Regions from separate parts of the Homo sapiens genome. Here region 2 is linked to region 1. Evidence: promoter capture Hi-C in 16 types of primary human blood cells and fetal thymus (Javierre and others, 2016). All regions are on one chromosome and are shown on one strand. Each heading gives the region's core, a stretch centred on a gene start or on the middle of the fragment in contact. The rest is flanking DNA. Distances are from core to core; before and after follow the strand shown.

Evidence for each region. The method cuts DNA at HindIII sites, captures the fragments that hold promoters and counts their contacts. A CHiCAGO score of 5 or more calls a contact.
Region 2: a contact is called between a fragment that was not itself captured here and the fragment with the promoter of RXFP3 in region 1, in 1 of 17 cell types (M0 macrophages). The highest score is 6.4, in M0 macrophages.

The regions. Positions count from the first base shown.
Region 1 is chr5:33,932,816-33,939,205 of GRCh38, reverse strand. RXFP3 (relaxin family peptide receptor 3) reads right to left here and starts at 2,820. Exons shown (of 1, transcript NM_016568.3): 1 at 288-2,820. The coding sequence starts at 2,465. The coding sequence ends at 1,056. The HindIII fragment of the contact is 5,701 bases long and covers 1-3,896 here.
Region 2 is chr5:32,701,513-32,707,587 of GRCh38, reverse strand. It overlaps a transcript of NPR3 not described here. Among named protein-coding and RNA genes, the nearest start is that of NPR3, 6.8 kb to the left of the region's middle. The HindIII fragment of the contact is 1,772 bases long and covers 2,451-4,222 here.

The DNA of each region.
Region 1 (6,390 bases), core at 1,571-4,070:
CAAAGGAACAGCTTGATTCCCAAAGCGTGGGAAGGGAGGAACTGAAGAAGTGCCCCCACTCCTCCCAGTAGAGCTATTCAAGATGCCTCCGGGCCCAGCTCACCGGCAGCACGCAGACTGCTCTCAGAGGAACTGGAGCGCCCGAGCTTCCTGCGCGCAACGCGCCAGCGCTCCACTTCCAACTCTGCTACCAAGTGAGCATATGAGCCCCCTTTTACCTTTTGGGGCAGCAGCCTGAAGAAATTTCCCTGTCCAGCCCTTCTAATCACACTGTGTCTCCTCCCTCCCGCAGCGACGACACTCCCCAGAGAATGGCTCTCCCAAGCTGGTGACAGGTGTTATCCCCCTGCTAACGTCTGAGCTCCGGGGCTGTGCAGCTAGGTCGGGCTCAGGGTGTTCCCGCTGGCCCAGTCCGGAATGATAATTGTCATAATGACTCCATTGGAGGTGGCTTTCCTTTGCCGTTTCTCCTGTGGGCGGACCAGGATGGTCAGTTCTTTTTCTTAACTCCAAAAGCGTTTCTTGCCTACCAGCTCTAGATTCCTGGGGCAGCCCCGCAGCAAGTAGGACCTTGGCGCTGCTGCAGTCTCGTTTGCCAAGACGCAAAGGAGTGTTTGTGCCGACGGCTGCCCTCTCCGCAGAAGTCGCTGGAATAAACGGGCACAATTGTCTGTGCATCATTTGGCTAAGCCCCGCTCCCCGTGCCAATTTCTCTACATTTTTGCTGCTTGTCTTCGCTTCTGGGCGCCCCCACACTACTCAGCGTGGGAAGAGTAAGGAGAGGCTGTGGGGTGCGGAGCGGAGGTTGGCTGTCTGGCCCGTGGGGCTCGTCTCTATCCCTTTGCCAATTTCCTCTCTCCACCCGATTTCGAAGCATCTCCTCTCCAGAGAAGGTCCTCGGCCTATCCACAGGCTCCTCCTCCATGCTCTGCCCATCCTCCTCCCACCTACTTCTTAAATGGGGCCCCCCCCAGCCCTCCTTCATCCTTTCACCTCTTTACCGCCCGGGGAAGGCCACCTTGCCCCGACGGCGCGCCCTGGGCCTGAGGCCTGCGTCAGTAGGCAGAGCTGCTGGGCAGCAGGTCGTAGCGCCCCCCGCTGTAGACCACGACGCCAGGTGGGTAGTAGAGCAGGTCCGGCTCCGCGGCCGCGTGGGGCGGCGCCGGGGCCTGCAGCCCCTGATCCTCGTGCTCCGGCTTGGTAGTGGCGGTGAAGGGGCGCATGCTGGTGATCGAAGGAGACGCGATGCGCCACAGCAGGCTCTTGAGCGCCTTGCGGAACTCGCGGCGCACGAGGCAGTAGAGGACGGGGTTGAGGCAGCTGTTGGAGTGCGCTAGGCACACGCTCACAGGGAACGCGTATACCTGGCACAGGAAATACTCCTGGCTGAAGGGCACCGCGTTGAACTTGATGAGGATGCTCCAGGTGGTGAGCGCCTGGTTGGGCAGCCAACACAGGAAGAAGGACAGGACAACGATGGTCACTGATTTGGTGACCTTCGACAGTCTCCGGGCGCTGGCTCCGGTCGGGCGTCCTCCGGCTACCGCGGCCCCTCCTTTGGTCCCCGCCGCGCGGCGGTCGGCGATGAAGCGCACCAGCAGCAGGTAGCACAAGATAATGATGCCCAGCGGCAGCACGAAGCCCAGCAGCACCTTCTGCGAGTGGTAGAGGCCCAGCCAGAACTGCCTGTCGCGGCCCAGCAACTTGTCCGGGAAACGCACCAGGCACAGCTCCTCGCCCATCACCTTGACCGTGGTGGAGAAAATGGCACTGGGCAGCGAGGCCAGCGCGGCCAAAGCCCAGATCCACACACACAGCGCCTTGGCCGAGAAGCAGCAGCTGTCCCCCAGGCTCCGGCCGCAGCAGTCGCCCCGGCCGTGTCCTCGGGTCCGGTGGCTCTTCAGAGCCGAGGCCACCGAATGGTAGCGCGTCACACTCATGGCAGTGAGGAAGAACACGCTGGCGTACATGTTCATGGACGTCACCATGGACACGATCTTACACATGGCCTTGCCGAAGGGCCATTTGAAGTCAAGAGCGTTCTCCACCGCCCAGAAGGGCAGGGTGAGCACAAACTGAAAGTCCGTCAGCGCCAGGTTGGTGACGAAGAGGTTGATAGAGGACTTGCGCCAGCCCTGCATGCTCTTCATCAGGTAGAGAACCAGCAGGTTGCCCGCCAACCCCAGGGCGCACACCACCCAGTACACCACGCTGATGAGAATCCGCACCCGGGCCTCTGTGTCCGCGCTCTCTGCCCCGCCGCTGCCCGGGGGATGTCCTGGCGGCGCGCCGTCCGGCAACTCCAGCCCCAGCTCCCACCACAAGTCCGGAAGCTGCAGCGACGCGTTACCACTCGTGTTGGCCGCCTCCAGAAGGTCCGGGACCAGACTGAAGAGTTCTGCTAGCTTGTCCCCGCCTGCTGCCTTATTCATGGTGGCTATCGTGGCTGCATCGGCCATCTGCATGCGCAGGTACCTCTAGGTCATGTTCTGGGGGACAAGACCTAAGATAACACGGTTTACCCCAGTTTTGTTGCCAGGCTAGCCTGCGGGACGTGCGTGGGAGCTTTCAAAGCAGCTACTGAAGAGAGAGCCCAGGAACTGGGTACTAAGCGCGTCCTGGCGCGCAGCGAACGCCCTGGACGCAGGAGTTGAGCTCAGCGGCTGCTTTGGAGCAGAGTTGAGGAGTGCAGCCCGTAAGGCAAGCACTCGGCGTCCAAGGGTTCTCAGGCCAAGCTCGGAGTCCCTAGGTCCTTATGTACAACGCAGACTTCCCCTCTCCGTGTCCCGCGGTCACTGGGGCACTGGCGCATAACTCCCCCAGCCGCTCAATTGTGCGATTTGGGGCCGCTCGCTCCCTTTCAAATACCTTTATCCGTTTCCTCTGGGACTGCTTGGATGAGGTTTCCGTCCTTGGAGAGAAAGAGATCGTAGAGTTCCATCCACCACGCTCAGCTTCCTGGAGGTCAGTGGGTGTCTGCGTCTCTCCGCGGTTGTCAACTCCGGGTGGGTTGCCAGCGGCTCTCACCAGTTACGGTGGCACTTGCACGGCCAAGGCGGCGGGCCCCAAGGAGCATGCGTAATCCCGGGGCGCCGCGAGGGGCGCTTTCCGAGGTGCTGAACCCAGCCGCGCCCGCGCCGCGAGGGAGAGTTGAGCTGCAGGCAAAGCCCACCCGCCACTCCAGTTTTCCTCTCCAGAGTTTCAGCAGGAAGGGTCTTAAGAGTTTATTTTACAGCTGCAGGAGAAAGTCGGCTTTGACGTGAGTTTCTTCTTCCTTTCTTATTCCCAAACATTATGATTAGAAGTTTTTTTTTTCTTTCTTCCTCACTCCCACTTTTCACCGGAATTATTCCATTTGGTGAGGAATTGTTCTAAAAATATGAGCTATCCTGCTTACTTTCCTTCTTGAAAGTAATAACAGTGGCCTCTTTTCATGCTCAAATGAGATAATGGGTACTTATTGGATACACAAAGGACAGCTCCACCTCCCCTCTTTAATTAGCTGACCACTTACGCAGTACCTGTGTTTGTCAGGATTTTCAAAGGGTCTTCACATGGCAGAAGTCTGGGCTCAAGGGTTGCCCCTACTTTAATGTATTCTGAGAGGTGACACAAAAACAGAGCAAACAACTGATGGTCCTACTTCACAGAAATTAAATGCCCTAAGCCCAAAGCGCTTCAACAAATTGTTTGATCACATACAGGCCACAGTCTCTTTACCTAGATGCAAATAGAATAGAGGATACCACTGGGCTGATCGTGAACCACCAGCCCTCCTATTTCCATTACTGTTAGCATCAGGACTCTTTTTCAGGCGTTTTTCAGACCAATGGAAGTACATTCTAAGGACTCTTCCAAGGGAATGAGTGGAAACCACTTGAATTACTTCTCAAGCTTCAGTCTACATAAATGCCAGGTCAATCGCTCTGGTGTAAATTACACTTTTAGGATTTACTTTAAAATTTTGAAATGTTTTCCTCTTGGTCTGGGACTAAACTGAAACCAAAGTTTCTTAAGCATAATTGTCCTCACTCCTGGAGTACTACAGAACTCCCAGCTTTACTTAAGGAGATAAAGAGGATGCAACCTTCAAGCTGAGGAGATAAGAAACAGAAAAAGAAAGAAAGAGAAAAACGAAAAAGAAAGAAAGAAAGAAAGAAAGAAAGAAAGAAAGAAAGAAAGAAAAGAAAAGAAAGAGAAAAAGGAAAAAAGAAAAAAAAAGAAACAAGAAACAATCTTGATTCCAAAGGACTTTTAGCCCTGAAGAGCACACACCTTGCTACGGATGCTGCACAGCTCCGTCTTCCCACTAGAGGGAGTAAGGGCTTTAGTAAAAACCTAGCCAAACACAAACATCTCCTTTGATCAGTTCTTACCTGGAGATCACCCCTGCCCTGAGGATTCCTCCCAAAGCACAGGTTATTTCTATGGATGACTATTATCCTGGTTTTAGTAGCCTCACTTTCACACTCAGTTTTGACTTTATTTTTAACTGGTTATTTCTCCATCAATTTTCTCTCTCTCTTCATCTATGTCTCTATTTCTCTTTTCTAATATTTCAAGGGGCTGTTGAAACACAAGAAAAGCTGGGGCATACCCTGAAAGCTCTCTGCTGTTAAATTTTTGGTATGTTCACACCAATGACCTCCATCTAACACATACACAGCTTCTCAGTGCTTCTAGGCACACCCAGGAATATATCTACTTGGTCTGCTCCAAATCACATGTACATATTCATACTTTATGAAAAAATTATAGGGGCCTGATTCAATTCATCTCACATTCATTGGCCACTTACTCTTGCCAGGCACTGAGATAGGCTGAAAGACATAAGTCCTCTATTTTGAGCGTCTCTGGAATTCTTAATCTAGATGAGTGTGCAATCTACTAGTGTCTAAAACTATATTTTTTGTTTAGTTTTGTGCATGACTAAGTTATCTAGAATGTAATGATTCATGCCAGATAAGTGGACAATAATTTTACCTCTTTTATTATTTCCCTTTTTTTTTAAGGGGTGGGTAGGTAATAAATAGTTATACCTTGATGGGATATTCCAGTTTTAGGTTTTTTGGGAGGGGGTACTCTATGTTGGTATTTAAAGAAACCATAAAGGAGGAAGGGTGCAGAGCTTGTTATGTTACATATGTGGTCTGTTTTTCTGTTCCTCTTCTTACCAAAATTGAAACCAGGCTGTGATGGGGGCCTGGAGGAAAATCAGCATCAAGAAACTGTCTCTCATTCACAGTGGCAGGGTATGGGATCTTGAAACCTTTTTCTGGGCTTCTTTTGTGTTCCTGAAGCCATGTGGGCCATGCGAAGCCATGAGGACAGCATAAAATCATACTCTAGCATGTAACCATTGGGAGCCCATGATCATAGAAGGGAAGAAATCACCTGCTTTGGTCCAGCATTTTGCGGAGGAGGCTTGAAGAAATGAAGGTATTTACCAAGAATCTCACCACTAGGAAGGAGCCACACCCGGTCTAAAACATAGTCTTGACTCTTAAGTGATGTCTCTTGATCTATGCTCCATTTTCCAATTTGGATCTAAGTCTTCCATATTGTTTTTCAACACAGGGGTGGGTGGTAGGCTGAATAATGCCTCCCCCCACACACAAATATGTCCACATCCCATTTCCCAAGCCCTTGGATGTTACTTTATACAGCCAAAGGAACTTTGCAGCCACTAGAAGCTTAACTAAGCAAAAAGATGGATTCTCTCCTAAAGCCTCAAGAAGGAAACAGCTCTTCTGACATCTTGGCTTTACTCTAGTGAAACTGATTTTGAATCTCTGATCTCCAGAACTGTGAGAGAATAAATGTACCTTCTTTTAAGCCACAACATTTCTGCCCATGTGTTATAATAGCAATAGAAACTAGCATAGGGTGGGTACACAGCCTGGCTTGAACATAACCTAATGGGAAATGGAGCAATTCTGATTTGAACATGTTGGTTAATCTTAACACCGACTTTGTGCTAGACACTGTGTCATGTACTAGAGATTTAGTGGTACCAGAACTCACATTCTAATAGATGAGAGAGACCTTTTAAAAATTTGAATTCTGGGTTGGGCACACTGTCTCATGTCTGTAATTCCAGCACTTTGGGGTGCTGAGGCAGGCAGATCACTTAAGGTCAGGAGTTCAAGACCAGCCTAGCCAACATGGTGAAACCCCGTCTCTACTAAAAATACAAAAATTAGCTGTGTGTAGTGGCACATGCCTGTAGTCCCAGCTACTCTGGAGGCTGAGCCAGGAGACTTGCTTGAGCCCAGGAGGTGGGGGTTGCAATGAGCTGAGATCACATGGCTGGACTCCAGCCTGGGCAACAGAGCAAGACGCCATTTCAAAAAAAAAAAAAAAATTCTAATAAATTGTATTATTATAATT
Region 2 (6,075 bases), core at 2,087-4,586, 1.2 Mb after region 1:
CCCCTAGAGGCAGAAAAGATGAAAGAACATTACAAATAATTCAAGAACATTTCTGTAATGTAATCAGTGTTGAGATTTCATTCTTTACATATAGTTGCTGTTTTAGAGTGAACTATTCAAGAAGTGGGGAAAAAAAATCAATGGATGCCAAAAAATTAAATTAAAATTTTGCCTCTAGGTTCTTACTTTCCTTAGCAGGGACTTTATTAACTTACTCTTTTTCTTCTATTATATAAATCTATTATTTTAATTTGCCAGCACTATAAATAATAGTAATTTTATATTTTTCTAATTAAATTTATAATTCAATCTCATCAGAAGCTGCAGCTAAATGTGACCTTAAGGGGTTCTTTTGAAAACACAGAGTTGTTTCTTTATTATAATCCTCTTAGATTTCCATCAACTACCATCTTTTTTTCACTTCTTTGAAGATGTTCTGAGGCAAAGTGACATTAGAAAGACTTCTGAAAAACGTATAGCTAGTCAGTGATTTAACCTGAATACTGGCATAAGATTTGCAAGCTATATGAAGAATTCTCATATCATTGATTTATAGACAAGTTAATTTATGTAGATTATTATATTCACAAAAACGAGTGTGAATGGGGACTTCAAAAAGTTCATGTAAAATGGAATTAAAAGATAAAAATTTAAAATATGAACTTTATTTCTTAACAAAAGATTCATCAAGTTCAAGACACTCTTCTGAGTGGTGATCCCAACCATGTAGTTTATCCCTAAAAAACCAAGGGTCCTGGAAACTTAAGCATGTCAATGCAATCTTTATTAACTGAAAAAAATAAAAAATGAGTGCCCTTTACAAATTTATTTAAGATCAGGAAACAAAGAGAAGTCAGAAGGAGCCAAATCAGGACTATAAGGTAGATACCTAATGATTTCCCATCAAAACTCTCACAAAATCACCTTTGTTTGATGACAGAAATGAGCAGGAATATTGTCGTGGTGGGGAAGAAGTCTCTGGCGAAACTTTCCCAGACATTTCTAGGCAAAGTTTTGACTAACTTTATCAAAACACTCTCAAAATAAACAAAAGTTACCATTCTTTGATCCTCCAGAAAGTCAACAAGCAAAATGCCTTAAGCATTTCAAGAAACCATTGCCATAACCTTGGCTCTTGACCACTTCCACCTCTTGGTAGCCACTGCTTTAATTGTGTTTGTCTTCAGGATCATGTTGGTAAAGCAGTGTTTCATCCCCCTGTGTATTAGGCCATTTTTGCATTGAAATAAGGAAATAACTGAGACTGGTTAATTTATAAAGAAAAGTTGTTTAATTAGCTCATGGTTCTGCAGGATGTACAAGAAGCATGGCACCAGAATCTGCTCGGCTTCCGACGAGGGCCTCAGCAAGCTTACAAGAATGGCAGAAGGCGAAGGGGGAGCAGGCACCTCACATGCTGAGACAGAGTGCAGGGTTGGCAGGGAGGTGCCACACACTTAAACAGCCAGATCTCATGAGAATTCACTCACTATTGCCAAGGACAGCACCAAGTCATGAGGGATACGCCCCCATGACCCAAACATCTCCCACCAGGCCCCGCCACTGACATTGGGGATTACAATTCAGCATGAGATTTGGCAGGGACAATTCTCCAAATAAATGCTTTGGGATATTTCACTTGTTTAAAATTTCCATTGAAAGTTCTGCTTTTGTCTTCAACTAATCTGGCTGCAACAGTTTTGGCACCCATTGACTGGAATATTTGCTGAACTTTAATTTTTCCATTGGAAATGTGGAAGCTGAACCAATTGAGATATCTATGGCGTTGATTATTGTTTCTGCTGTTAATCGCTGGTCTTCCCCATTGATATGGTTTGAATCTGTGTCCCTCCCCAAATCTCATGTTGAATTGTAATCCCCAATATTTGAAAAGGGGACTGGTGGGAGGTGATTGGGTCACGGGGGCAGTTTCTCATGGTTTAACACCATCCCCCTTGGTGCTGTCATGGTGATAGAGTTCTCATAAAATCTAGTTGTTTAAAAGTGTGTAGCATCTCCCCCTCCCCATCCCTCTTCCTCCTGCTCTAGCCATGTAAGACATGCCTACTTCCCCTTTGCCTTCTGCCATGATTGTAAGTTTCCTGAGGTCTCCCCAGAAGCTGAGCAGACTGCCATCATCCTGCTTCCTGTACAGCCTGTAGAACTGTGAGCCAATTAAACCTCTTTTCTTTATAAATTACCCAATCTCAGGTATTTCTTTATAGCAGTGTGAGAATAGACTAATACAGGCACAAACAAGATTGGTTGGTTAGTTTGTTTTTTCTCAAAACTTGATGTGGATGGTCTGCCACTGTGGGCTTCATTATCAACATTATCTTGTCCTTTCTCAGAATGAGTTATCTATTTGTAAACTTCTGATTTCCTTAAGGCATTGTCCCCACAAGCTTTTTTTAAAGCATCAATTACTTCAGCATTTTTCAACCCAAGCTTCACTGTAAATTTAATGTTTCCCCTTGCTTCAATTTCAGCAGAATTCATTTTGCTCTGATAGTGCCTCAAATTGAATCCTATTCAGACATGTCATAAAAAGTTAGTATAAGTTTGTTAAAAAATAATTTTGAAATCTATGCATAGTTTTTTTCATAATACACATATTCCACAAACTTTTTGAAGACCACTTATATGCACTTCAACTTCATGCATACCAATACTGACTATGTTTAATGGATTTATTTAGTTGTACGCTGCCTTCTTCCAAAAAGGATTTGAGAAAGCACACAAATACATAAAATCAAATTTTAGAAAACTTTCCTGCCCTGGCTGGGGAGTGCAGGAAATGGGCACTGGGCCATGTGCAAACGCCAGCGCATGTTGCAGAGCCATTGGGTCTTACTCTCTTGTAATGGCCTCAGAAATGATCTCCTCTCCCATCTCAGTTTCCATAACATTGCTCAGATTTGTGATCACACCAAATTGTATTTCCATTTGCAGGAAAATATGTCTGGGTTGGGATCCAGTCTCCAGGGTGGTATACTGTGTTAAGATCATGCATTTAGAAGCCTCATCAAAATGTCTGCGCATTATCACTTAACCTGTTTAACCTTCACTTTCTCAATTTTCTCATTTCTAAAATAGAGATATCATTTGGAAGACAGAGCAAGCTGGCTAAATAGAAGCCCCCACCAGTTGTCGTCCCCACAGGAACACCAAATTGAACAACTATACACACACACACACACACACACACACACACACAAAGAGCCAAAAGAACACTTCATAAGAACCAAAAACCAGATGATAAATCACAGTACCTGGTTTTCATTTCATATCACTGAAAGGGGCATTAAAAAAGGGTAGGAAAGACAGCCTTGAATTGCCAATGCCAACCTTCCCCCATCCCCCAGCAGCAGCCATGTGGTGTGGAGAGAGAATCTGTGCACTTGAGAGACAGAGTGCAATGACTGTGGGACTTTGCACTGGGACCCAGTGCTGCCTTTTAACAGCAGAAAGAAATACTGGGCAGAACTCAGCCAGTGCCCATGAAGGGAGCATTTACACTAGCCCTAACCAAAGGGGAATCATCCATCCTAGTGGTTGGAACCTGAGATACAACAAGCCTTGCCACAGTGGGCTAAAGTGCTTTGGGTTCTAAATAAACTTGAAAGACAGTCTAGGCCACAGGGACTGCAATTTGTGGGCAAGTCCTGGTGCTGTGCTAGGCGTGGAGCCAGTGGATGTGGGGGACACATGACCTAGTGAGACACCAGCCAGGATGGCCAAGGCAGTGCTTGCACCCCACCCTCTCCCAACCCCAGGCAGTGCAGCTTGCAGCTCCACAAGAGACTCCTTCCTTCCACTTGAGGAGAAGAAATGGAAGAGAAAAGAGGACTGTCTTGCAATTTGGCTACCAGCTCAGCCACAGTAGGATAGGCCACCAAAAGGAGTCCTGAGGCCCCCATTCCAGGCCCTAGCTCCCAGATGACATTTCTAGAAATATTCTGGGCAAGGAGGGAACCTGCTGCCTTGAAGGGAAGGACCCAGTCCTGGCAGGATTTATCACCTGCAGTCTAAAGAGCCTTTGGGCCCTGAATAGTCAGCAGTAATAGCCAGGAAGTATTTGCTGTGGGCCTTTGGTGAAACCCAGGGCTATGCTGGCTTTAGGTGTGGCCCAGCACATTCCCAGCCATGGTGACTACTGGGAGAGACTCCTTCTGCTTGAGAAAAGGAAAGGGAATAGTAAAGGGGGCTTTGTCTCAAAGCTTAAGTGCCAGCTCAGCCACAGTGGCATAGAACACTAAACGGGCTTTTGGGGTCCCCAGTTCCAGGCCTTGGCTCTTGGAAATGGAGACCCCAAGATGCCATTAGATGGCATTTATGGATACTCCCTGGGCCAGAGGGGAGCCCAGTGCCCTGAAGGGAGACTCCCAGGCCCAGCATTTATGACAAGCTAACTGAAGAGTGCTTGGGCCATGAGTGAACATCAGCAGTAGCCAGGAAGTACTCATCATAATCCTGAAGTGGTGATGACCATATGGAGAGATTCCTTTGCTTATGAAAAGGGAAAGGAATAGTGGCACAGAATTTGTCATGTGGCTGAAAAAATGCTCACCATCACTGGCCATCAGAGAAATGCAAATCAAAACCACAATGAGATACCATCTCACACCAGTTAGAATGGCAATCATTAAAAAGTCAGGAAACAACAGGTGCTGGAGAGGATGTGGAGAAATAGGAACACTTTTACATTGTTGGTGGGACTGTAAACTAGTTCAACCATTGTGGAAGTCAGTGTGGCGATTCCTCAGGGATCTAGAACTAGAAATACAATTTGACCCAGCCATCCCATTACTGGGTATATACCCAAAAGACTACAAATCATGCTGCTGTAAAGACACATGCACACGTATGCTTATTGTGGCACTATTCACAATAGCAAAGACTTGGAACCAAACCAAATGTCCAACAATGACAGACTGGATTAAGAAAATGTGGCACATATACACTATGGAATACTATGCAGCCATAAAAAATGATGAGTTCATGTCCTTTGTAGGGACACGGATGAAATTGGAAATCATCATTCTCAGTAAACTATCGTAAGGACAAAAAAAACCAAACACCGCATGTTCTCACTCATAGGTGGGAATTGAACAATGAGAACACATGGACACAGGAAGGGGAACATCACACTCTGGGGACTGTTGTGGGGTGGGGGGAGGGGGGAGGGATAGCATTAGGAGATATACCTACTGCTAAATGACGAGTTATTGGGTGCAGCACACCAGCATGGGACATGTATACATATGTAACTAACCTGCACATTGTGCACATGTACCCTAAAACTTAAAGTATAATAATAATAAAATTTAAAAAAAGAATTTGTTATGTGGCTTGGGTACCAGCTCAGCCGCAGTAGACTAGTGCGCCAGGTAGATCCTAAGGTTTCCAACTTTAGGCCCTGGCTCCTGGATGGCATCTCTGAACCTACCCAGGGGCAGGGGGAACTCAGCATCCTGAAGAGAAGAACACAAGCCTGGCTGGCTTTTCCACCTGTTAATTGTAGAGCCTCAGGGCCTTGAGTGAACCTAACTGGTAGCAAGGCAGTGGTTACTACAGACCTTGGGCAATACCCACTGCTATGCTCGCTTCAGATCTGACCCAGCACAGTCCCAGTGGTGGTGGCCACAACAGAGATACTTATGTCAGCATTCCCTGGCTTCAGGCAGCTCAGCACAGAGAGAGAGACTCCGTTTGTTTGGCAGAAAATAAATGGAAGAGAAGAAGAGTCTCTGCCTGGTAATCCAGAGTACTCTTTCGTGTCTCATCCAAGACCACCAAGGCAGTACCTATATAAGTCTGCAAAAGCCACAGCATGACTGAGCTTGGGATGCCGCCTAATGCAGATACAGATGCAGTGACCAAAAACTTAGATTACAATACCCAAGTCCCTTTGAATACCTGGAAAGCCTTCCCAAGAAGGATGTGTGTAAAGAAGCCCAGACTGCAAAGACTACAATAGATGCCTAACTCTTCAATGCCCAGACACTGACAAACACCCACAAGCATCAAGATCATCTAGGAAAACATGACCTCACCAAATGAACTAAATAAGGC